7 separate regions of the Homo sapiens genome follow, and all the other regions are linked to region 1. The links are contacts of gene promoters, found by promoter capture Hi-C in blood cells and fetal thymus (Javierre and others, 2016). All regions are on one chromosome and are shown on one strand. Each heading gives the region's core, a stretch centred on a gene start or on the middle of the fragment in contact. The rest is flanking DNA. Distances are from core to core; before and after follow the strand shown.

What was found. The method cuts DNA at HindIII sites, captures the fragments that hold promoters and counts their contacts. A CHiCAGO score of 5 or more calls a contact.
Region 2: a contact is called between a fragment that was not itself captured here and the fragment with the promoter of FST in region 1, in 16 of 17 cell types (M1 macrophages, megakaryocytes, total B cells and 13 more). The highest score is 23.1, in M1 macrophages.
Region 3: a contact is called between a fragment that was not itself captured here and the fragment with the promoter of FST in region 1, in 9 of 17 cell types (megakaryocytes, M2 macrophages, endothelial precursors and 6 more). The highest score is 10.7, in megakaryocytes.
Region 4: a contact is called between a fragment that was not itself captured here and the fragment with the promoter of FST in region 1, in 11 of 17 cell types (M2 macrophages, megakaryocytes, M0 macrophages and 8 more). The highest score is 12.4, in M2 macrophages.
Region 5: a fragment that was not itself captured here is called in contact with the fragment with the promoter of FST in region 1 in 2 of 17 cell types (megakaryocytes and M0 macrophages); the score reaches 7.4 in megakaryocytes.
Region 6: a contact is called between a fragment that was not itself captured here and the fragment with the promoter of FST in region 1, in 1 of 17 cell types (M1 macrophages). The highest score is 5.2, in M1 macrophages.
Region 7: a contact is called between a fragment that was not itself captured here and the fragment with the promoter of FST in region 1, in 2 of 17 cell types (megakaryocytes and M1 macrophages). The highest score is 6.7, in megakaryocytes.

The regions. Positions count from the first base shown.
Region 1 is chr5:53,478,873-53,482,521 of GRCh38, forward strand. FST (follistatin) reads left to right here and starts at 1,757. Exons shown (of 6, transcript NM_013409.3): 1 at 1,757-2,004. The coding sequence starts at 1,920. RefSeq lists an enhancer at 2,990-3,059. The HindIII fragment of the contact is 5,217 bases long and covers 1-2,762 here.
Region 2 is chr5:54,209,894-54,213,542 of GRCh38, forward strand. The region is part of intron 1 of ARL15 (ARF like GTPase 15); the gene reads right to left. Among named protein-coding and RNA genes, the nearest start is that of ARL15, 99 kb to the right of the region's middle. The HindIII fragment of the contact is 5,856 bases long and covers 1-3,649 here.
Region 3 is chr5:54,189,549-54,193,197 of GRCh38, forward strand. All of the region lies in intron 1 of ARL15 (ARF like GTPase 15), which reads right to left. Among named protein-coding and RNA genes, the nearest start is that of ARL15, 120 kb to the right of the region's middle. The HindIII fragment of the contact is 3,595 bases long and covers 109-3,649 here.
Region 4 is chr5:54,171,031-54,174,679 of GRCh38, forward strand. ARL15 (ARF like GTPase 15) reads right to left here. Exons shown (of 5, transcript NM_019087.3): 2 at 754-898. Among named protein-coding and RNA genes, the nearest start is that of ARL15, 140 kb to the right of the region's middle. The HindIII fragment of the contact is 3,181 bases long and covers 520-3,649 here.
Region 5 is chr5:54,150,563-54,154,211 of GRCh38, forward strand. The region is part of intron 3 of ARL15 (ARF like GTPase 15); the gene reads right to left. Among named protein-coding and RNA genes, the nearest start is that of ARL15, 160 kb to the right of the region's middle. The HindIII fragment of the contact is 906 bases long and covers 1,589-2,494 here.
Region 6 is chr5:54,118,844-54,122,492 of GRCh38, forward strand. The region is part of intron 3 of ARL15 (ARF like GTPase 15); the gene reads right to left. Among named protein-coding and RNA genes, the nearest start is that of MIR581, 170 kb to the left of the region's middle. The HindIII fragment of the contact is 1,735 bases long and covers 1,019-2,753 here.
Region 7 is chr5:54,091,359-54,095,007 of GRCh38, forward strand. The region is part of intron 4 of ARL15 (ARF like GTPase 15); the gene reads right to left. Among named protein-coding and RNA genes, the nearest start is that of MIR581, 140 kb to the left of the region's middle. The HindIII fragment of the contact is 4,752 bases long and covers 1-3,649 here.

The DNA.
Region 1 (3,649 bases), core at 507-3,006:
GGCGAGGTCACCCGCTTTTACCAGCCTGCTGCACCGAATGCGCGCGGTGCAGGTGCGGCGGCCGCGGGGCTTTGTGATTCATGCCCACTTTCAAAGGGGGGCTTGGGCCCGTCTGAGAGGCACCCAAACAACTGTCTTCTAATATTAGCACGGCTGTATTTCGGGATCTATTATAGTCTGTCCAGACAGATCCCATTGTAATGGGATCTTTTATTAAAAGATTAGCACTATCTCCTGCAGTTGGTGGAAAAAAATCTGTTATCACTGAGTTATTTGCAGTTGTGGAGGGGGGAAGGTTGACGGAAGATGGGGGGTGGGAGGGCTAGAGGAGGACTGGGGGAGGGTCTGGCGGGGGGAGGGCAGTTGCAGGGGGGGAAGAAGGGCAGATTTGAAATTCGTAGAACAAATCCCAGTGACCTGCGAATGTCCAAGAATTTTGTCTGCATACTTCGCTATCTGTTGTCCTTCGGGCTTCAGATGCGAAAAGAACAAATTTAAAAGGCAGCTTTGGAATAAACAATATAGCATTTTCCGTGAAGTAATCGTTTTATATAAAAGGAAATATCGCCTCCTCAGTTTCATTCAGCGGTGCCAAAAATGTTATAAATGAGAGACCCGCCAACTTTCAGCGAAGAATGCCAGGCACTGTACTTAATAAACTGAGGCTACAGAAGTTCATTATGGATGTTGCAATCTTTTTTATTCCGCGAAAAGAGAGAAGACGAGACAGAAAGAGAGAGAGATTGGAGCCGAGGAGACTGAGAGACAGACAGAGGCACACAGGACAGAAACTGGGGAGTCTCCAGGCGGGAGAGGAAGGGGGGGCCAGACCGCCTACGTCGGCGCCCCCGCTCCGGGCTCCGACTCCAGACGCCGCGAAGTGAAAGGGGAGAAAAGAAAGGGAGAGGGCGAGGCTGTGCCGCGGGGAGACCGGGCCTGAGGTGTTAAACATTTTTGTTTGCTTCCGACTAGTCCAGACGAAGGGCCGCGTCTCGGTAGCGCTCTGCCAGGGTGGAAGGTGCCGGGGCCGGGGTTCCTAGCAACACCTCTGGGCTGGGGGTGGCTGCAAAGTCAGGCACTCACAGACCCAGACACAAAACCTCGCGGGTCCCGCGCCCAGGCTGCGGGTGCCCGGAACCGCCGCGAGGCCGGCGCGCTCCGACCCGACCCGGGGCGGGATATTTGGGCAGCCCGGGGCTCTTCGGCCGTTTGCAAAAGTCTCTTTGGAGCGGAGGAGAGGCAGCACGGAGACAAACTCCCGGGTTCCCCCCGCCACCGCCTCCAGCGCCCCCACCGCGCCCTCCCTCTCACACTCGCGCGCGCGCGCACACACACTCACACACACACTCACACACACACCCGCCACCCCGGGCGCGCCGGCGCTGCCGGCGAGCGGCGGCGAGCAGGACTTGAAGTGGGTGTTCTTCCCCACTCCCCACCCCCGACGCGTAGCCCCCAACCCCCGCCCCGGTCGCCTTCCCCCTCCCTCTCGCTCCTACGCAAATAAGAACTCGACGATTCCCTTCCAGCCGTTTTGATTTCGGGCACCTCCGAAAGATAATTGGGAAGGGTTTCCAGAAGGTGGGAAATGTCACCTGATTCACACTGAACTTTTGAAAGCTCCCCACCCCCAAGGAGCCGCGCACACCCTCGCTCGCGGCCGCCCTCCCACAGCCCCACACACTGGGAGACCGCCCACCGCAAACCGCGGAGACCCCCGTCTAGATTTAAAGCGCGGCTGCGCCCGGCTTCTGACGTCCATTGAATCGCGCGGGCGGCCGGCGGCGAGCGCGGGGCTGCGCCGGGATCGCTGCGCCCTCCGCCGCTGGCCTCTGCGACGCGCGCCGCTCGCCCGAGCCACCCGCCGCCGCGCCGGCTCCCCGCGCCGCTGCGCTCCTCGCCCCGCGCCTGCCCCCAGGATGGTCCGCGCGAGGCACCAGCCGGGTGGGCTTTGCCTCCTGCTGCTGCTGCTCTGCCAGTTCATGGAGGACCGCAGTGCCCAGGGTAAGCGAGTGGGGATGCGCTGGGGAGGCTTGGCTGAGGACAGGGGGGTCGACTTTTCTGTGGTCTCCACTTGGTCTGTTCTGAGCAACGCTGCTCTCGGAAGATGTTGAACCAACTTGGGGACTCCGGGATGGAGAGGAGTGGGAAAATTGTAGGCAATGACACTTTAGGACTGGGAACTGAGTTTGGAGCTCGGTTATCTTGAAAAAGGAAAGGGAGCGAGCTGGGGTCTTAGTAGTTAGGGTTAAATGCTCCAAGTTCTGGCCATGATAACTTTAGATGTGATCTCCTCTGTTTGGCTCTGAAGAAGGGAACAAGTATCAGTAGTAGCCTGGAGATTTCAGTCGACCCATTTGCAGTCTCATCTCTCTCCCTCCCACATCTTTTGGATACTTAAAAAAAAAAAAGGAAAGAAAGAAAAGAAAACCTGGGGGTTTGGGGGAGAGATACTGAATTTTATTTGGTGGCTGGGGGACGTGGTTTCAGAAACTTTGCCCAAACTTGGAAATGTGGGTGCTGAAGATTTTCAAGGGAAGTAGCTTTCTGCCTAGTGGATGCTTCTTCCAACCCCATCCCCCATTCTCGCAAAAAAAAAAAAAAAAAAAAAAAAGCCAAATTATTACCCCAAAGTGCTTTGAGCACTTTACAGTTTTTTTCCCCTCTGCCTCATTCTTCTTTCTGACCCTTAGCTTTCTGTAAAACAGTGAGCAGCCCATAACTGACTTAAATTCTGAAATGGGTTAAGAGCAAATTTCTGAAGCTTGCCTTTTAAAAATAGATTTGTTTATTTCAATTAGTCTTTGGGCAGAATGTTTAAAATAATAATAGCAGCTTGCGATCCAATGATTGTTAAAGTCATATTGGTGATTCATGAGAAGTCTTCTCGACCCAAATCCGAACATTAAAAAGGGGGAAGAGGGAGAAATCACTTGCAAATATTTCTTGCTAGGTATGAGATAGGTACTTATAACCGTGAAATGGTAGGAAGACTCCCCCCTCCCCCCACCTTAAGGCATTACTTTCCCTGCTTCAGCGTTAACATTTTAAGTATGTTGTAAACTGCCCTCCTGGGCACTGCCCCTCGCCGTCTGCATGGCACTGCGCTGGGTTGCCCGCCTTTAGAGGAGAGGCTCTGCCTGGTGCCCGGACGTGGGCGCGGAGGAAAGCAGCCCTCGGAGATTTCGAAAGATCGCGGTGGCCGCGGGCGTGCTCCGGTCTGGCGGATTGCAAAACGGGCCCGTCGGGCTGGCTGCGCCTGGAGGCCGCGCGGGGTAGCTCCGGGCTGGGCCGGGTTGCTTTTTTGCTTTCATTTTTCAGAAGTGCCTTTTGCTTGATCTGTTTCTCTCTCTCTCTCTTTCTTTTCTTTCTTCCTCTCTCTCTTTCTTTCTTCCTTTTTTTCTTTCTTTCTCTTTCTTTTCTTTCTTTCTCTTCTTTCTTTTCTTTCTTTCTTTCTCTTTCCTTCTCCCTCTCTCTCCCCTCCATCTCTCCTCTCTCCTCTCTCTCGTTCTCTTACTTTCTTAACCCCTGTCACAAATAATTCCTGTACCCGCCTACATGAAACCAGCATGTAAAAACATCCGTCGCATCCTGTTTTTGTCAGGTTCTTTAATCTGCTCTTCGAGTCTCTGCAGGTTATGAAATGGGA
Region 2 (3,649 bases), core at 368-2,867, 730 kb after region 1:
TTTCTTACATGGCAACTTTCTCTTCAAAATATAAAGATACACAGTGACTTAGAGGATTATAGAATGCTAATAAAACAGAAGAGCTAAGGAGTTCTTTGAAAAAGGAAGAAAAGGTGAATAAATGGTAGAAATAACATTAATTTCTTCTTTGTGTCCTAATATTTGGCTTGAATACAATGCCAACTTTTTTTTCCTTAATGTCTTCCATGAAAGCTGAAAAGGCAAAGAGGCATAACAAGTAAAATTAACAAAAATATGCTTTTTCTTTGTTATTAAGTATTCTTCTAAAAAGCAAGACATTTTTAAACGTACCCACTTCAAAATATATTGTAAGATTCTGTGACACAGGCATCATTACCATAAAATCCTCCCAATCAAATTATAATTTTCTTTTTCATGAACTATATTTCTTAAGCAAGGCAAGAACATTTTATTAAAAATAATGCCTATTATCTATTTTATTTTACTATAATCCACTCACTTTCCAGCCAATTTGCTCCGAATATTCTCTTGGAAACTTGTACTTCAAGACAATGGCTTCACTCATTACGTTATTTCAACAAAATGATAAATGTATTGTGAAATATATTATATTTGATTATCAAGCTAAAGCATTGCAAATGGCCATCACAGAACCCAAATTCACCCATAACATTCTATCCCCCAGAATAGTCCTCTGACAACAAATGATAACTGTACATGACAAATCCTTTGAGGCATCTGGGCCTTAAAAATTAAAGGGCCATTCTGACTAAAGTATGTTGATTTTCCAAAGGAAGTTTTGTTGCAGTTGTTGCTGCTGTTGCTATTATTTGAATTGACTAATCCTCAAGTAGGTTCTAGCCACCCTGAAGAATATTTACAAATACAAATATATTAGAATTGAAAGAGACCTTATATGCCACATAGTTCAATCTCTTTTCCTTGAGATGCAAAACTGTGGCACAGAGAAGTTAATTCAGTTGACAAACAACTCATGGTTAATTCAGTCTCATAGAACCCAATCTAGTGCTTTTTCTGCAATAACACATTACAGAGTCTGCAAAACCAGCACAATTACTACCTGACACTGTCAGCAAACAAAATGAAAATACACATATTTTAATAAGTAGTTTTTGCTTATTTTTGCAGTCACACATAAGATGTTATATCTTTACACAAAACGAAACTAGGATTATTTTTATTGTTCAAAAGACAGACTGTCCAATTATAGCTATTACTGAACTAGAAATGTATTTTCAGTTTATCTTCCCAAATCAAGTTAGTGGTTTGTTTGGTATGCACAAAGTATTCCAAAATGTCACAGAGTGGGGGCTATTGCAGGGTTTTCTCCTGCTTCCACCAGACCACAAAGGGCAACAAGTTTGGAGGGGACAGGAAGGTTGGGAGCAGAATACAAGGAGCTGTAGAGCTGTTCTATCGGTTCAGGTTTTAAGATCCATGAATAGACCCTACTCACCGAGTGAAAGCCCTGACAATTTTATCTGAGCATTAGAAAATAATTCCTTGGGCAGTTAAAAGATTGGAATATCAAAGAGCTGACATTAGTTTTAGGCAGCGCTTAAATGAAACACTTTTTTTTTTTTTTTTTTTTGAGACAGAGTTTCACTTTTGTCACCCAGGCTGGAGTGCAGTGGTGCAATCTCAGCTCACGGCAACCTCTGCCTCCCAGGTTCAAGCGATTCTCCTGCCTCAGCCTCGCGAGTAGCTGGGAATACAGGTGCCCGCCACCATACCTGGCTAATTTTTTGTATTTTTAGTAGAGACAGGGTTTTGCCATGTTGGGCAGGCTGGTCTTGAACTCCTGACCTCAGGTGATCCGACCGCCTCAGTCTCCCAAAGTGCTGGGATTACAGGCACGAGCCACCGTGACCGGCCAAATGAAATACTTTTATACTCTTATCTTACTTTTAAAAAGAATATGATAATCAGAGAGTTCAGGAAGGAAATAAAGAGGAGTAGATAAAGTCCAAAATGAGGAATATGCTTATCTGGAGCACACCTACTTAACCAGAAAAGAGTAATTTGAGTAGGAAGAAATGCCAAGTCACTAATTTGTTTAAGGATCTTGGTTATTGGTTGATTCCATTAGGAATGTGTCTGGCTACAAGTAACAGAAAATTCATGTTAGGTGCTTTAAACGGCATCACCAAACCTAAAGGGCCAGAGAGTAAATATTTAAGACCTGCAGGCCATATAGTCTCCGTCACAATTACTCAACTCTGTCATAGCATGAAGGCAGCCACAGTCAATACGTGGCTGTGTTTCAGTAACACTTTACTTACAAAAATAGGCAATCAGCCAATGGGTCATAATTTGCCAACCAATGGTTTAACCAAAATGTCAATCCCTGGTTTAAACAAATGAGACTTAATTAAAAAGAAGCTGGCCTTTTTTGTAAGGTAGTAAGAAGGGCACATCAGCTCCAGATGTCACATTTCTGTTTAAGAAGAGGAAAAGGGAAAAGGAAGGTAGAAAAGGGAAAAGGCCACATCTGTCCCTTTTCACAGGAAAGCAAAAACTTTCCCCACAGAACCTCAAGCAGACCCCCTCCCCCATAAGATCACTAGTCAGAACCGAGCAACACAGCCACATCTAGTTGTAAGAGAAGCTGAGAAAACAGGGAACACAGGAGTCTAAGTGGCTTAGACCAATCATGGTTCATTCATTGCCTGGGGCTAGACACATTGCTGCCTCAGACCAGGGTATTTTAGCAAGAAGGATAAATGGCTATTGGGTGTACAATGAACAGTGTTTGTCCTGTTGGACTATTTTTTCTGTTTTCTCTATTGGCATAATCTGCTCAAAGAAAATATGCTTTCTTAGCTGTGAACTAATTAGTCAAATGGAGATTGAGAAAGATTAAGCATGTTTGGTGGTAGGGGTGGGGAACAAATAAGAGTGAATCTACTGTTAGCTACCTAAAAGTAGTGATTTAATGGGGGGGAGATGCAGAGTGAGAAATCTGAATAGCAGTCCTGCCAGCCCAGTTTTATGACCTTAGCCAAAACACTTAACCTACCCATGCCTCTGTTTCTCCAACTGGAAAAATAAAGTTGTTAAATTAGATGTCTCTAAGGTCCCTTGACACACTAACATCCTGTATCTCCTTTAAATATGTTGTCTGATCAAGCAAACATAGCATAATGTATCCAGTTAAAATTTCCTCCTAAAAATAGTAATGCCCAAATCACAAATGTGGAGGATTCCCAGGCAGAATAAAGTTTTAAACCAAAGAAGAAAAAGGATTTTATTGAAATAACTTTTCACACATTGCTAAAACACTGGCATTCCATTCAACCCTTCCAATTTCTAAGAAAACACACGTGTAAGAAGGGTAGTTAACTTTTTTAAAACACTATAAATGTGTCTTGTAAAAATTATACTGTTTCTTACAACAAACTTAAAATAGTTCTCAAGTCCAAAATGGTAACTGTTCTAGCTAGACGACTAACTGAGGATGCTCGAGTCACCCCCTCCACTGCCACAACCCCAAATAAGCATTGCAAAAGATAAGGTGGCAGGAAGTAGATTTACTTTTGAGATGCTCTCTCAAATAACCGCCCTTTTAACAATGCACTGGAAATTAATCAAAACACAGTCAGGACCATTGAGGTTCCTTAAGAAACAGACTTTTCAAAAGGAATCC
Region 3 (3,649 bases), core at 656-3,155, 710 kb after region 1:
CAGTCTTTTCAACAGATGGTGCTAGGAAAACTGGATATGCACACACAAAAGAATAAAGTTGTACCCTTACCTAATGCCATATACAAAAGTTAACTCCAAATGAATAAAAGCTTTAAATGTAAGACCTAAAAGTATAAAAAACATAGAAACATAGAAAGTTTTTTCTTAGAAAAAAACACAGGGCAAATGCTTCATGACATTGAATTTGGCAATAATTTGTTGGACATGATACCACAGACACAGATGAAAAAAGAAACAATAGGCAAATTGAACTTTATCAAAACTAAAACATTTGGTACAACAAAAGAAAATGTCAATAGTGTAAAAAGTTAGTCCATAGAATGGGAAAAAATATTTTTAAATCATATCTCTAATAAGAGATCAATGTCTGGAATATGTAGACAACTCCTAAAACTGAACAATAAAAAAACTGTTCAAAAATGGACAAAGAATTTGAAAAGACATTCCTCCAAAGAAGATATACAAAAGGCTAATTAAGTACATGAAAAGATGCTCAATATCACTAATCATCAGGAAAATACAAATCAAAACTACAGTGAGGGCTAGGTGTGGTGGCTCACGCCTGTAATTCCAGCACTTTGGGAGTCAAGGCAGGTGGATCACTTGAGGTCAGGAGTTCGAGACCAGCCTGGCCAACACGGTGAAACCCCGTTTCTACTAAAGATACAAAAAAATTAGCCAGGTGTGGTGGTATACACCTGTAATCTCAGCTACTCAGGAGGCTGAGGCAGAAGAATTGCTTGAACCCAGGAGGTGGAGGTTGCAGTGAGCCAAGATCACCCCACTGCACTCCAGCCTAGGTGATAGAATGAGACGTTGTCTCAAAAAAAAAAAAAAAATTACAGTGAGATATCATTAGGATGGCCACTGTCTTAGACTGTTCCTGTTGCTCCAACAAAATACGTAATTTACAAAGAACAGAAGTTCATTTTCTCACAGTTCTGGAGGCTGGAAAGTCCAGGATCAAAGCACTGGCATTTTGTGTCTGGTGAGGGCCTTCTGCTACATCTTCACATGGCAGAAGACAGAAGGATGAAAAGGGCCTAGCTAGTTTCCTGGAAGCATTGGATAAAGGTATTAATCCCATTCATAAGGCCATAGCCCCCAGACTTAATAACCTCCTGAAGGCCTCACCTTTTAATACCATCACATTGGGTCTTAGGTTCCATCATATGAATTTTGGGGAGGACATGCACATTCAAACCATAACAGCTACTATCAGAATAATGGAAAATAACAAGTGTTGGCAAGGATATGGAGAAATTAGAACCCTTGTACACTGTTGGGAAGAATGTAAAATGATATAGCCACTGTGAAAAACAATATGGCAGTACCTCAAAAAATTAAAAATAGAATTATCATCTGATCCAATAATGCCATGTCTGGATATATACTCAAAAGAACTGAAAGCAGGATCTGGAAGAGTTGTTTGTACACTCATGTTCATAGCAACATCACTCATAACAGCTAAAGCATAGAAGTACCCCATATGTCCATCAACAAATGAATGGATAAGCAAAATGTGATATATACATATAATCGATTACTATTTAGCTATAAAAAGGAAGGAAGTTGTGACATATGTTACAGCATGTTTCAACCCTGAGGACATAAGACTAAGTTAAATAAGCCAGCCAGCCGTAAAAAAGACAAACACAGTTTGACTCTACTTATATAAGATAGAATTAGTCAAAGTCATAAAGACCAAATGTAGAATGGTAGTTACCAGGAAATAAGGAGGGGGATACAGGCAGTTATTGTTCAATGGGTATAGAATTTCAGTGTTACAAGATGAATAAGAGTTATGAAGATGTATGCTGGTGATGGTGGGGATATAACATTATAAATGCATTTAATACCACTGAGCTGCATACTTAAAAATAGTTAAGATGGTGAATTTTATATGTATTTTACAAAAATAAAAAAAAATTTTGAAAAAAAATCCCACAATTTATAACTCATCCCAAACCTATTCCTCCTGAAACTTTCCTCCTTAGTTAACAACAGCTCCATTTTTTCAGTTGCTCAGGCCAAAAACTCTAGAATAATCCTTGGCACCCCTTTTTCTCTCAAACCACACATCCAATCAATCAGAAAATTCTGTCAGCAATAGCTTCAATATATATACAGACTCCAACTACTTCTCACCACCTCTACCCTTACCACCCCAATCTCTTGCTTTGATTATTCCAAAAGCCTCACACTGGCTCCCTGCTTTCACTCAAACCTCCGTATAGTCTATTTACAGCACAGTAGCCAGAGTGATCCTGTTAACATATGTCAGATCAAGTCTCTTTTCCACTCAAAATACTCCAAAGGCTCCCATCTCACTCAGGCTAAAAATTAAAGCCCTTATAGCAGACTAAAAGGTCCTATAAAATCTGCCTCCTTCCTCCTTCCTCCCCCACTCCTAATTATTTCTATGACAACATCTACTACTATTTCTTCACTCAGTCAGTTACTCCAAGCAACCTGGCCTTCTTGCAGTTCCTGGCCCACGCTTGGTAACATCCAACTTCAGGACCTTTGCACTTGCCATTCCCTCTGCTTAGAAATCTCTTGCCCTAGATATACATATGGTTCATAGTCACTCCTTTATGTTGTTTGGGTCTTTGCTCACATATCACCTTTCAGTAAGACCTGCCCTGATTACTCTTAAAAACTGCACATGTACCCTAAAACTTAAAGTATAAGTAAAAAAAAAAAAGCCAAAAAAATTGCAACCTTTCCCACCACAACATGTTCTAACTACCTTACATGTTTTCCCACAGAACTTACTGTCTTCTTACTTACTCAGTAATTTACTATTTATTTGTTTATTGCCAGTCTCCCCTCACTAGAACATAAGTCCCATGACGGCAAGATTTTTTACAATTGTTTTATTGAATTATTTCCTAACCTTTTATCATTGGACAGAGGTTGATGGAATTCTATATTCTAGCCGCATTTTTCTTGAATGGAAGGAACATGCATCCTTTTAAATCACATCCTATTAAATTTGGCAAATCTTATACTTTTATGTGACTCCTCCTGTGTTTTGTCTTCCTCTAGAATTATAACACTAAGGTCATGCTAATGACAAAGAGTTGGGGTGGGGGGCGGGTCTAGACAGAGTTTTAAAGTTTTCTAATCTTTACAAGAAGACACAAGAGGAGAAACCAGTCAGTCTGTTGAGAGAAAAAACAGAAAACGTAAGTGTCATGAAAGTAAGAAAACTTAAGTGTTTCAAGAGGGAGGAGGTAAGCAACTAAGATGAATGCTTCTGAGTAGTTAGATCAGAACACACAGATAACCATTGTATCTGGAAATATGGAGGATATTGGTGATCTTCACAAGCACCATCTTACTGGGGTGGTGAAGACAGAAATCAAGAGTATGTATGTAGGTCCAGTGACACTTTTCATTTGACATGTTTCACGTAGGACATTCCTTCCATTCCCATGGCTTCTACTATTTTGATGGCTTCTGAATCCCATATCTGCTTCAACGTCCTGCTCTGGAGAGCCAAACTAGAGTTTTTAAACTTCCTGTTAAACATCTCTATCTAGATCTCCCTTAAGTACTCTCAAACTAATAAAAATCCAATTTCAGTATCAATCCTACCACCCACAAAAGAAACTTGTTCCTT
Region 4 (3,649 bases), core at 860-3,359, 690 kb after region 1:
CATTGTCAGAAGAGAAAGAGGACACATTTGGGAAGTGAAGAAAAACCCTAGCCAGGATTTCTCACTAATAACTTGACACTGAAAACATTTTGGGCCTGATAACTCTTTGCTGTGGGGGCTGCCCTGTACATTGAAGGATGTTTAGTAGCACCACTGGCCTCTATCCACCAGAAGCCAGTAATACCCCTCCCCACAAATGACTCCAAAATGTCCCACTCAGAGGCATAATCTCCCCTGATTGAGAACCACTGCCCTAGACTGACTTTGCTTGGCTCCATCAGGAAGCAATAGGGGAAGGCTGATGCATGATCTCTTGCACTGACTTTCCTCCAGGTGAAAAATGACAAGGAAAGAAGATTCAGACTACATCAGTTTACTATTCAGGGAGTGTGTGGCCAAGAAACATAGGCTGGAGTGACACTTCAAGGAAGGAAAGTACTCTATGGGCCCAAGATGAATCCATTTTGTCATATATCAGAGTTCCAGATTTCAGGATTCATTTGTATTAATATTTTCCCAAGCTTCATTTATTCAGTGCCACTGAAATGACCTGCTAGAGGGATATAGGATACAGCAATTTAATGCTATTAAATTCATTTCAAATCTTTTTTGAAAAAGAGATAGTGTTTAAAATTAAAATAAACTGATTAAAGCATTAAACTATAAGTAGAAGGGAGGGGATAAATTGCACAGGAAACTAGGACATCTTGGGATGAGAAAGAAGAAGGGACAGAACCCCAGCACAGTACCCACCTGTGGTCGACACGACGTTATCGGGGCTTTCACTGCAGAGTTTGGACAACAGACTGGTTTTGCCAGAACCTGTGAGGCCTATGCAAACCAGGTCATATTCTGGTCGTGCAGGTGGTGGTCCCTTGCAGCAAAGTGCTCTAAAACACTGCCAAAAGAAGGGGAAAAAAATGTTCCTTTAAATGACAGTATGGAAATAAACCATAGTCACATTTAAAATGACTGAGTAAGTATTAAGAGGTAATTGAATAAAGTATTACCTATAAGGAAGAAAACGGTAACTTTAGAACAGTGAAACCTGGAGACACCACTCTAGCCAAGTGATCAAAGTTAACATTCTTAGTTATGAAATGTTTTTCTACTTCATGCCTCCCTTCCTGCTATGGCAGGTGCACTGCAAAAAGCATGACATCATCCCACAGCTTGCCTGCCAAAACCACACAATCTGAATCTAAGCATGAGGAAACCAGATAAAGCCAATCTAAGGAGTATTCCATAAGGCAACTGGCCTGTTCTCCTCCAAAATATCAATGTCTTAAAAGTCAAAGAAAGACTGAGGAACTGTTCCATGTTAAAGAAGACTAAAAAGACATAATAATAAAATGCAATATATCTTGGACTGGATCCTAGATCAAAAGGGGAAAAAAAAAGCCATAAATGACATTATTGAGACAATAAGTGAACACTGAATATAGACTGCATATTAGATAAGAGTACTGTATAAGGTTAAATTTCCTGAATTTAATCAATGTACTGTGGTTATGTAAGAAAAATCATTGTTCTGAGAAAATATTCTAATTATTTATAATACCTCTAAGTATTTAGAGGTGAAGGGTCTTGATGTCCACAATTAACTGGCTCAGAAAAATCTAAATCTCCAGCTCCATCTTTATCTGGTGAGGAGAGTGACAAAGCCAACATGGCAAAATGTTAATGACTAGTGATGCTGAGTAAAGAGAATAGAGGAAAACTCCTTGTTCTGGTCTTACCACTGATATTATTTCAAAATACAAAAATTTTTAAAATCATTAAATAGAGTCTCTATACATACCACTGCCTTTCTGGCCTTTGCTAAATTCTTTTTCAGGTCAATCAACCAGGGTACTATGAACTGTAGTATAGTTTGCTCTGCAAGAGTTAAAGACAAGGGGATCTGGGCCAGGCACAGTGGCTCAGGCCTGTAATCCCAGCACTTTGGGACCAGTCTGGCCAATGTGGTGAAACCCAGTCTGTACTAAAAATACAAAAAGAAATTAGCCAGGCATGGTGGCAGGCACCTGTAATTCCAGCTACTCAGGGGACTGAGGCAGGAGAATCACTTGAATCTGGGTGGCAGAGGTTGCAGTGAGCCAAGGTCACACTATTGCACTCCAGCCTGGGCAAAAAGAGCGAGACTCCATCTCAGAAAAAAAAAAAAAAGAAAAGAAAAGAAAGAAAGAAAGAAAAACAAGAGGATTTGGGAGACAGGGTATCATTTGTGCAGCTTTTGATCTTTCTACTTATCCCATATCCATAGGGGCCAACTATGTGCCAGCTTATAGAGCCTGAAACATTTAGACCCTGAATGATTCATGAGAGAAAGAGGGAAAGGGGGAGACAGGGAGGAAAGAAGGCAGATCCACTCACTTTTGGGTCATCTGGAGATTACGAGAGAAGAGACCTATAAAAAAGCCTGTGTTGATTCATCTCACTCAGATAAAATCTGAGTACTAATTGGCTGTCATACTCTCGTAAATCAAACTTGATTATTTCTCTCCCTCATTTCTCACATCTAATCAACAAATCTAGTTCATATGACCTCTGAAGTAGCTCTAGGATCTGTCCACTTCTGTCCAGCCCAGGCCATCATCACCTGAACAACATCAATATCCTCCCACTAGTTCCAGTATATTTGCTCTTGTGCCCCCTATTCTCCACATTGCAGTGACTGGATTGCTTATAAAGAGAAAATCTGACCATACGTGCTTAAGCCACCCCAGTGACTTTGCCCAGCTCTCGAGCCCAAACCCTTACCATGGTCTACCCCACACTCCATGATCTGCTCCAGCCAAGCTCACCAGCCTCATTGCCCTCACTCCCCTACATCCTCCAGCCATGCCCTCTCTTACCTCAACTGAGGCATCTAATATGCTGTTCCTTCTTCCCCCAATTCTGGACTTAGCCAACACCTCATCATTTTTAGGTCTCAACTTAATCATCCCATCCTCAGGGCAGTCTGCTCCAATCCTAAGATTGTGTTAGCAATTCACGTCCAGCTCTACTGGGCTTTTATAAATTCATTACACAGACAATTGCAGTTTCTTATTCATCACCAGCCTGTGAGAACCATGTCTGTCCCCCTTCATCTCAGTACTCCCAGTGTCTAGCAGAGAACATGGCATAGAATCTACCCTCAGCAGATAATTGTTGAATGAAGAATGAACGACACTTAAATTTTACCTAAGCAAAGAAAAAAGAAAACATAGAGACTAACAGGATGCTTGATCTATGTTCTCTGAGCCCTCCACGCTTCAAGAAAATACTGTCAAAATAAGAAACCGCTGACTTTTTCACTTCGCTTCAATGCCATTAGTTAGCCTAGTTCCCAAAAGAGTGGTTTTGGTGTACAGGATCAACTTTCTTGGTAAATTAGAGCTTCTTTTTGTCCTAAATTCACTTTTCCTCTGTTCTCAAGAGGTTCTGCCTGCTTCTGGTAAACAATTCTATGACCCATATTCTTCATGGGTTTATTCATGCTAATTGTATTTCCTCTCAGTCTTTTCAAGCCTGAGGAGTCCTACTTATTTCAGTCTGTCTTCATCCTATGAGATGTTCTTCTCTGATCTTCCTTTAGTTCCAGCACACCCTCTCCCACAAGATTAATGACCATAACTACTAACAGCATTCTAAACGCCAACAC
Region 5 (3,649 bases), core at 792-3,291, 670 kb after region 1:
GGCTGAGGGCAGATCATTTGAGGTCAGGAGTTCGAGACCAGCCTGGCCAACATGGCGAAACCTTGTCTCTACTAAACATACAAAAATTAGCGACGTGCGGTGGCTCATGCCTGTAAACCCAGCTACTCGGGAGGCTGAGGCAGGAGAATTACTTGAACCCATGAGGCAGAGGTTGCAGTGAGCCGAGATTGCACCACTGCATTCCATCCTGGGCAACGGAGCAAGACTCTGTCTCAAAAATAAATAAATAAAAAATAAAAAATGGTGTTTTACCAACACACTGTTAACCAAAAAAAAAAAAAAACCAAACCAACATGTGAAGACTTCAAATCATGCAAATAATAATGATACAAACAGCAGCAAATAACAGGTGGGAGCACTTCTCTTGTGCCAGGCCCTGGGTAAAGTGCTGTAGGTGTAGAGTGCACTGGTTAGGCACAAGAGCTCAGACTGATACCAACCTCCGGCTCCAAATGACCACAGTCAAATCATCATGTCTGGTGTTATCTTATCTGTGAGATAATAATAGCATCTACTCTCTAGGCATGAAGTTGCAAAGACTGAGACTGTGTAGGGGAGAGAAAAGGGAATAAGGGCAAAACAGAAGAAGAAAATTTAGAGCTCCAATTTCACAAAAAGATAGGCATAATCACTGCAGCCTGGAGGGTGTGACAGGTAGTTGAGAACAAGGCATTCTTAAAATAGCAAAATAGAAATGGCCCACCAAACCACTGGGCTAGACTATCACTGTGTCATAATTTACCTTGTACTTCTGCACTTAATTTTTTTCCCTTTCATTTCATTATTTTCAAAATTTTCACTAATTTCCTATTTCTCTTTTCATGAATGTCTCCATCACTGAATGAGGAGTTCCCTGAAGATGAGGGCTGTGCTTAGATCTTTCATTCTCTGCCCATAGGACCATGCTAGACCCATAATTAATTGTGGTAAAATGATCAAGTGAACAGTAAGAAAACACCACATGAAAAGAAATTGATGTGAATGAGAATTTTAAGAATTTTTCAGGAAAAAGATATAAAAACACTTTCACAAAACAGAAAATTGGTAAGAGGAAATAATAATTTTTATAAGTAATATATATTCAACACATATATATTCACACACAAACATATGTTTGTGTGTGCAAACATATAGTTTGTCATTAAGATCCCCAAAAGTGACTTTCACTGAGTGTAACTCCATTATTCATTGTTTCCTCACCCCATATCATTTCTTCTAAATAGATAATGAGCACAGGTTTATGCGCTTCCCTATTTTGAAGAAGTGAGAATTTTAACTTAAGACTGGGAAAGAGTGAAGAAGAGCCTTGGAACTATCTGAAATGGGTAGAGGAAGGACATTAGCAGGGAGAACAGGGGCCATGCTGTTCTCCTGAATTAACCCCAGGATAAGGAGAACTACCTGGGCATTCCTCACTAAGAATTCATCACTGTCCTGGCTCTTAATCTCTATATTTACCACCTATTTTCTTGAGGTCCTCCCCTGAATTCAGAATTTTTCTCTGATTGACAATGTGATTGAACTCTGATTAACCTGTCTTCTGAGCAACCCTCCACTGGTGAATAAAAGCTTCATATCTTCACACATTGATCATAAAACATATAACTCTCTCCTCCCAGAAATTCTCAGTCAAGCAACTCCCTCTCAGACAACTTGATTTCAGCCAGTCATAATTCCCCCTAAGTGCACATACACCTTATTTTGGGATGATCCCCTTCATATCTAGCATACACGTTAACTCCTAGGAAAGCTACACTTTATACAGGTTAGCCTAGCTTTTCATGTGTTCCTGGTTGAGACATAACCTAGTACCTAGCCTCAAAAAATATTTGAGGAAATGACTTAGTGAATGAGCTGTCAAGAAGTCAACTCCCTTAAGTGCTTGCCCCCGAGCATGTGACACAGGATACACAATTGGATTCTACTCAGAAAGTCCCCTCTTCCTTCAGACACTGTGTCAACTGGAAACAGAGCTATTAAAGTTGAGAAAGTAAAAGAATCTATGCATAGGCTAGAAATTTGCTCTTCAATACTAACACATGCCAAAAACTTATGTATCACTAGCCTGGAACGAATGTATCTGCTCTGATCCCTGAGGCTCTGCCTTTTACCTGCATCTCTTAACCTCATTACGAAATAGGTACCAACTAAAACATAACCACCAAATCCTATGGTATCCTCTCCATTGTAATTTCCATTTCAGCAACTGTCAGGGAACAGCTCTTTCGGCAAAATTAAACCGTGCTTGAGAACAGACCTATTCCCACCTTATGTACCTCTAGTCCCCTAACTTGATCTTTCATTGTACTGAATTTTGATGGCACAGAGCCAACCTTACGAATTCCTTGGTGTTCACTTTTTTTAAAACTGTCCACATACAGTTACTGTTTGTTTCATCCAAGTAAACATCATATGTAATAAATGTCTTATTAACCAACCAATAGTTTCTTATACCTGGAAGGTGTTCAATAAAAGCTTTGTGTCCAACCTAAAAATAAAATACTTAGTAACAGCCATATTTAAAACCCATATAACTCTCAAACCATGCATTTACAATGTGTTCTTTGATTTTTAAATATCCATAAGTAATATTATTGTCACCAAGGAATAATCAGCAGAAGCCACAAAGCAAAAAAGCATTTTTTTATAAACCATGCATCTGGAAATTTTAAATAGGAGAAAGATTATTTTGTTTCATTTGAATGTTCTGCCAGCTGCTTGTATTTCTTTTTTGAATTAAATTAAATTAAACTAATTTCTAGACGTTAATTTATCAATAGTTTCTGAGCAACCATTGTATTTAAGGTTTTAAGCATATGGCATGGTTAATATGCCATACATTTATTTTTCTTAAAAGTACAATTATAATTTAAAATACCCTAATAGAACACAGTCTTTTAAAAACTTTGCATAGAAAAATTATTATAAGAACATTCATGTTTTATAATTTTTGGAGTCAAAATGACAAAACCAAATGTCTTAAAGAAAAATCGGAATTTATTGATCATGGTTGTTTTATATATTAATGCTATAAAGCTAAAAGTGAATATGAAATTGACTGGCAGAAGCGAACCTGTCCTACACATAGCGAACTGAAAACAGACACCTGAAAAGATCAGCCAGTTTTTTATTAGATAAAAATAAGAAGGTACCAAACGCTATTAAAATGGCGTAAAGTTGGTGTTACAATCTCATCGAGCTAAAAATAGGTCACAGTTAGAATGACCTTAAGGGAAAATAAACAAAACAAAACAAAACAAGGTAAGGCCAATATCACAAAGTGATTAAAGAGATGGAAGATAACTCTCTCCTAAGTCATTAAACTCACCGATATCATACTGAACTCCAGAGCACTTAGTATTTTCATGCGCCATTAGAGAATTTAGTGGGTTCACTGAATTGACTGATTTCTTTGTTAATCTATTTACATGGGTTAAGACCCTGACTAACATAAAACACAACCAAAAAATGCCAGACAGAGAGTGTAATGAAAGACTGAGTGATGTATGGTTTGGGGTACAGCCTATCCGATAAATGTGCTTGGCCAGCAAAGAACCCATTGGCAAAGATTTATTATCGGAACAAATACATTCTAAAAAGATCTAATACAATAAAACCTGCAGTATAA
Region 6 (3,649 bases), core at 636-3,135, 640 kb after region 1:
TCCAAGGTAGGTGGTCCTCAGCCTACATTTTATAAAACAAAGTTCTACGTACCATACAAACTGATATGCCAGTTGCCCTCTCCTCACCTTATCCTCCCTCAACACTTATTCTGGATGTCTATGTGACTCCAAACACAATTTTACATCATTATCTTAGATGTCAATTCCTAACAATTGCATTGAGGACCATGTCTGCATTCTGACATTGGCCCCTCCTTTATGTTCTCACTATGGTTCATGCCTTCATCACCTTCCAGCTGGATCAGTAGGATGACCTTCCAACGGCTCTTTGCACAGCTCCAGTTAAATTACTCATACTTGTCACTATGGGTTCAATGCCCCTTCAAAAATTAAGAGGTAGAACCTTTAAGAGGTGATTAAGTCACAAGGACTTCACTTTCAAAAATGGATTAATGCTGTTCTTTTGGAAATGGGTTCATTTGAGGAGTTTTCTCCATTTTCTCCTCTCTCTTGCATGTTCTCTCACCATGTGATACCTTCTGCACGTTTTGATGCAGCAAGAAGACCCTTGCCAGATGAGACCCCTTGAACTTGGATTTCCTAGCCGTACCGAGCCAAAAAAAACTCCTATTGCTTATAAATTACCCAGTCTCAAATGAACCAAGATACTTACCTAGAAAACTAGCACAAACTATCACAAATATACTAATACTTGTCCAGAAAACTAGCTCAAATTATATCACTACTCTGCTCAAAAACATTAAGTGCCTATAACTTGAAGTTCTCAAATGACTTGATTTAGCATTTATAGTTCTCCATAATCTGGCTCCACTTTGCCATTCCTACCATGTTCCTCTGTTGATCTCCTTAGATACTCCACAAATGAGCAAAACGTTTTGCTCTCCTGGACCAGACCTAAGGTTTCCACCCTTATGCATTTGGTTTTGTTATCTCCTTTGCCTGGAGTTACTACCGTGTGAGTTGTCCCCTTAGTTCTTGTAAATTCAAACCACTACATGCGCTTCAGGGGCCAGATCAAATGTTGCCTACTCCACCAAGCTTTACCTGATCTTGCAGCTGGGAATAATTTCTAAAAATCTTCTGGTCTGTTTCTCTTGGTTCTCCATGTAACACTTTCTACCCTGTAGCATAGTAATCTAAATGCATAGTTCATCTTCCTGATTACACTGGAAGAACCATATGGGAGTTTTGTGCATTTTCGTGTCTGATTCATCACCATACTCTGACCACATCTAACCCATAATGGAAACTCAATAGTTTTTAAAGAATTAATCTTTTATAGAATACTTATTCTGATTTCTCAAAAGTAGAATGTAGAATTTACCAAGCAAATCATTCTTTGCTATACAAATAATCTATCTTTTTGGTTGATGGTGGTGGCTTGAGTAAAGTTATTAGCAACTAATTTTTATGTTTCTGGTACATACCCAGTTCTGCAAGGAATCTCTCATTCAGCATCTGATATTAAGAATTCCTTAAACATATTTACAATGAAACTTCACTCTACTCATAGGCCTTTCTCAGAGTCCTGTCGTAGTATTTGAAAACATGCAGCCATAATACAGCACGTGCTAAGCACTGTACTAAAACCACAAAGTACATTAACCTATGTTCCTTGGGATACTTTTTGATTCTATCCTATTTATGAACCTTTATACTGTTCTGATGTCCAACAGAATCAGTACCCAAGAGAAACTGAAAGCATAGAAAGAAAAAGCTGTGGGAACAGTTCTGGAGAAATGTTCCCTTCCGTACTCCTGCAAAAGCCAACAGCTGACTCCTTAGAAGAACCACAGATGCCAAGGGGATCACAACTTGCATAGTTCCAAATGTTTTTTAAGCAGCTAATTCTTGAGCCATTGGCATGACACAAAAAACAAAACACTTTTGTGGTATTCTAGAAAATCTGGTGGCAAGACTAGAAAAGCTAGTGGGAACAGCTTTGCTGCAATTGACGTTGACCAAAGCAATAAATTGGGAAGAGCCAAAATGGAGACTTCCTGGCTGACAGAAAGATATTTGTTGCATACCCAGGATGAAATAAGATCTTTTAATAATGCGGAAATGCTACTGCTTTCTAGCACAACTTGCCAATTTCCCCAACCAGTATTTTTTCTTTTTTATCAGAAACTTTAACGTACCAATCCTGTGACAAAACTGATAAAGATGCAAGAGGTTCTAGATTAAGACAAACTCACGGAAAAAGTTAAAAACCATCTAATGTCTCATCCTATATAGCATAAAGTATAATTAGAGTCACATACTATAAGCCTTGATGTTCAAAAGTGGAATAGTAAATTTGTCCCTCACTTTGAGTGTTTTTTCGTCTGTGACTAATCAGACCTCAAAACAAGTTATTACCATATTTACTCACATAACAAAATTGTAAGAGAATTATGCTTGCTCTGCAATATATGACTGCACTCACATTTGCTCTTTCATCTTTTAACTGTCTCTATGACATTCTTTTTGGAAATGCTTATCAGAGCTCTTAAAATGAGAGTTCCATTTCTCCACCTGGCCCATTCCCTTTGATCTAGTTGTTGTCCCCCTATTGATGACAGAAGGCCACCCAGCATCATGTTCAGGCTCAAGCATAAAATAGTGAATGGCAAAGAAAAAGTCTAGATTTCAGGGAGGTGACATCAATGTTTAATTTTATAATGTGCATATCGAATTATGTAATTAGATAAGTCAATGCACTTTATAACTCATAAATAAATTTGGGCAGCTCTAAGTTTAGGGATCAAGTATGTTCTAAAACTTTCCAAAGCTTCTAATTTTTTTGAGAATTCAGTACACAATTTTCCTTGAAAACAAAGCAGTGAATCTCAGGAGTGAGATTCAGCCCTGAAGGACAGAATGATGGTAGAGTGATGAACAGCATGGACTCTTACTGAGTTCAAAGCCTGGCTCTGCCACATATCATCTAAGTAACATGAAAACTCCGCTTAATTGTTCCAAGCCTCAGTTTCCCTCTCAATAAAAGAGAGGAAAATAATAATACTTAATTACCTCATAGGATTGTGAGGATTAAATAACTTTTTTCACACAGTACGTAGAATATGCTAACTGTTCACAAGTGTTAACTGTCATTTTGTTGTGGATGTTACTATTATCATTTGTCCACCATTTAAGCCTATAACTCACAGAACTACTGAACGAAGAACTAACTCAAGTTAGCTCAGTACCTGGAAGTAAAAGGCTACCAGATGCTGAACAAAAGAGGCAAAGAATAGATTTTCTGTAATTCCTGAGAAAACCAATGTTATAAAAAAATAAACCAAAGTTTTTACTTGGGACAGACCCTTTCTTTTTCTGTTCAACTAACTTTCTCCTATGTCCTGTATCACCTTCAGACTCAGTATTTTATAATCTCCAGTTTCTTCCTCCCTCATTGCTGTCTAGATTTCTTCCCTTGACTAACACCAAATAAGAAATTTCTCCCCTTCAGACAAAAACGCATGTTCTTTCAGTACAGGTGTCTTCAACTAGACATGAACACAAACAGCATGATTAGTCGTGTTAACATTCAGGTGACACCCTTATGAAAACCAAAACTGATCACTAATACAAACTGGTTTTGTCCACATGTGCACGTGCATGCGTGCGCAATGTGCGTGTATACGCATACCTTTGAGAGATGATGTTACCTACAAGGCTGACA
Region 7 (3,649 bases), core at 539-3,038, 610 kb after region 1:
GAGACTTTATTTCTCAGGTTTTGAAGGGCTGGAGAATGTTACTCAAACATAAGGTCGGTAAAGAAATTTTAGCTTAGAAGTCTCCTATAATGCTACAGAGCTGTAGTCTGTAGCAGTCCTACAGGGCACTGCTCATATGCAGTAAGCAAAGGTGGGGCATGGGGAGGAGGAAGAAAACAGATCCAGAGACTGTCTGCAGAGCATCTGTTCCAGCAACCCAGTTGTGGGCCTTCTCCTGGACCAGTAAAACTCCATCTGGTATGGGAAGCTAACTGTTCCCCAGGTGGTGTGCCCACCTGTCAACTGACAGTCGGGCTTGTGCCACTAAGAACAAGGGCAGACACATTTTGGCACAGACCTTTGGAGCATTTCTTTAACTTAATGGCTGAGCAAGACTTGAGATGAAGAGATGAGGAAACACAGAAAAAAAAAAAATGCAATGGGCCCTGCTGGTCCCAGGCATCAGCTAGGGAATCTAGGTCACGCCTACAACAGGCGTCTGATGGGGTATACCATAGAGGGCGGAGAGTGGCAGGGAATGGTGCCAGCCTCTGCCTTTCTGGGCTTGCCAGCCCTTGGCAGGGATTCTGGAAAATGAGACATCCCAAGTCAAATGCATTTCCGCACATTCCTCTCCCTCTCCTGCCTCTAGCTACTTACATGTGGTTAATAGACTGCTCAAATTGAAAACACACACACACACACACACACACACCACCACCACCACCACCATCACCAGGATATGGAATCTATACACGTTCGTTCCGGAATGTTTAGGTTGAAAATACACGTACAAATATAGTCTCCTGGTGAAGCTCTGTGCTATGTATTTATTCCAAGTGATGTCCACAATCTTTTTGGAATTCTTCTGGCATCTGGCTTTAGAATCCTTGGCATATTCTTGTCAATACCCTCAGGTGATGAAAGATGTTTTATTCTAAAGAGTACATTTTATTTACCAGGCTTATGGAATTAGATGCTCCATCAATCCATATTGAATATAAGAATAAATGGATGGGTGAAACAAGCACATACCTATAGTTCTTAGACAAATTCCTAATGAAATGAATGACCAAGCATGGAATGTACAATTTTTTAATTTTAAAAAAGCAAACAAAAAATAAAAAATAGAGATTTTCTTGTATGGCTCATATGGTAGAACCCAGAAGACCATTTCAGTGGAACAAAGGAGACCACTGAAATAACCAGAGAACCACTCAAGGTGATCCTGGATATAGGGGCTATTAACCTTTTAATCTTTGCATTATTCCTTAAAGCGTTTAGATCCATTTGCTCCTTGTCTTCTCCTATCCTCTAGTCCTGAAATCACCAGGGCACCAAGCCTCGAGAGGCTGCTCTCTCCCTTACTGGGCTGGGTTTCTAAGATATCTCTGACCAGATCTCAGAGATAACTCCAATCCAGAGGATCTTTAGGCGGATCTTTATTCTGCCAAATCCTACACTGATACTAATTTTCAAACTTAGATGTATTTTAAATAGGAAAAGAAGACCCAAATTATATCATTTTAACTTACCTTATTTTTTCCTGTAAAACAATATATCATAAATTTTAAAAGTCTCTGTGCTTAGAAGAAGGTGGCATTCATACATTTCTGGGGTGTCTTTTAAAGAGCCTTATTGGTCCATAGTTACATCCCATACACATATATATTATAGGCACATTTACATGCAGACATATAAAGGAAGTATTCATAAAGGATGAGTGATGAACAAACACAAAGCCATGCTTTGATGTTAAAGATGCAGTGCTTCACTGTTGAGAAGGATGTGTAATTGAATTCTTGGTAATCACTGAGAATGGTGTCTATTGTTGAATGTAGAGTGCTCACAGAAGTCTTGCCTAGGGAGTTTGCTCTGTTCTAAGGTGAATTCTCCATAGCTCAACTCAAACATGAAAGGTGTCCTGGCATTGAGCCAAATGCCTAGGCCAGGGTGTTCTCTGGATCCTGCTGGGGTCACTGAAAGACCAAAGAAAGCACCCCAAACCTGGCCTGACATGAACCGAGAAAACTTGGGCAGCATTTGGCCCCAGGGTAAGGATGTGACAGAGCCTGCTCATTCTCCCTGCACTCACTTTGGCACACATTCAGCAATGCTCTATTTGATTGCTACCTTTCCCTAATAAAGAGCTAGGCTTTTAGTGGATGTTCTGATTCTCATAATGCAAAGACAGAAGGTATGTGTGAAAGTCTCCAGTAACACTATGCTTCCTGCACATAGTCTACCCATTAAATGACTGACTTGGATTTCTTGCAAAGATTGAATGCTGGAGGTAATTTAATAATTTAAGTATAATATAAACATTTAAAGTTAAAAAAAAAAAAAAGAAAAAAGACTGATCTGGGTTATTAAACTTTTTAAATATGAAAGTGATTTCTGAAAAATGTGCAAAAATGACTTTTACTCTTTTCTTACTTAAATACCATTATCATACAATATTCAAGTGATTTTGCTATTGGTGGGAAGTTTAGAATGCATCCTGATGAATATCAAGGATCTGCTATAAAAACAGATTCTCTTAAATATAATTTATGTGCATGCAACACACACAGTGTTTAAAATCCACATTCTTAAGTGCAGATGTGTTTTCAGTGTGGTCTCAGAGTGAAGGTTTCTATACAGGGTTTAGTCTGAGAAACAACTCGGGAAACAGATGAAAGGCATTTCAGATGATTACCCTAGAGACACAGTGGTTCTCAAGACTTGAGGCATATAGGCCATCCTGGGCTAGTAGACAAATTTTTGACATTTACCACCTGCTTAGCAAATGTCATACCAGTTCATTTTGATACTCACCAAATTTGTGACTTCCTAGACCAGACCACGTAGAGTCTCATATGGCTTTTATTTGGATTGCCTTAAAAATTGCCATATTTTCCCAATACCTAATAGTACTTCAATTTCTTAAAATACAGAGGAAAAAAAGAATAATTTTGCTAATTAAATCCTGTCAGAAGTACATGAATTCTGTTTTAAAACAACAATATTAAAGATTTTTGATTAGGAATAAAACATGGAAATTCCCAACTAAGATATAACATAGCACAAAAAAAAAAAACCAGTAATGATATAGAGACTACACAAAGGTAAAATAACAGCAACAAAAAAGGCACTGGGGTATATAATTCATATATGTATTTTAAGTAACTATTACCATTTTCTCTTAAATGCCCTAATAAAATAAAGCATTTTAAGATATGCTATAATACCTTAATAATAATTCATTACCATTATCTACATGATTCATTTTACCTACCTCTAAAAGAGAATTACTATCACTTTGCTATAAAGCAAACAGTTCTGAAAACTACCCACTTGGAATGCTGTACAGTGACCAGGCCTGGGTCTGTATTGCTCACTACTCTACATCCAGGACACAATGCACTGTTTGTCCCATCATAAGCACTGAATAAATTTGTTCATCTGACAAGTATTTATGAGCATCTACTATGTTTAAGGAGCTGTTCTAGGCACCTATATATACATCAATAATCAAAACAAAGATACCTGCCCAATGGATATTGCCGACTTGCTAAAAGTTAGATCAGCAGCCTTCTTTGAATATCAACTACTTCTGACATAGAGATGTGGCACAACTATATGAATGAAAGAAGAAAACAGTGTGAAA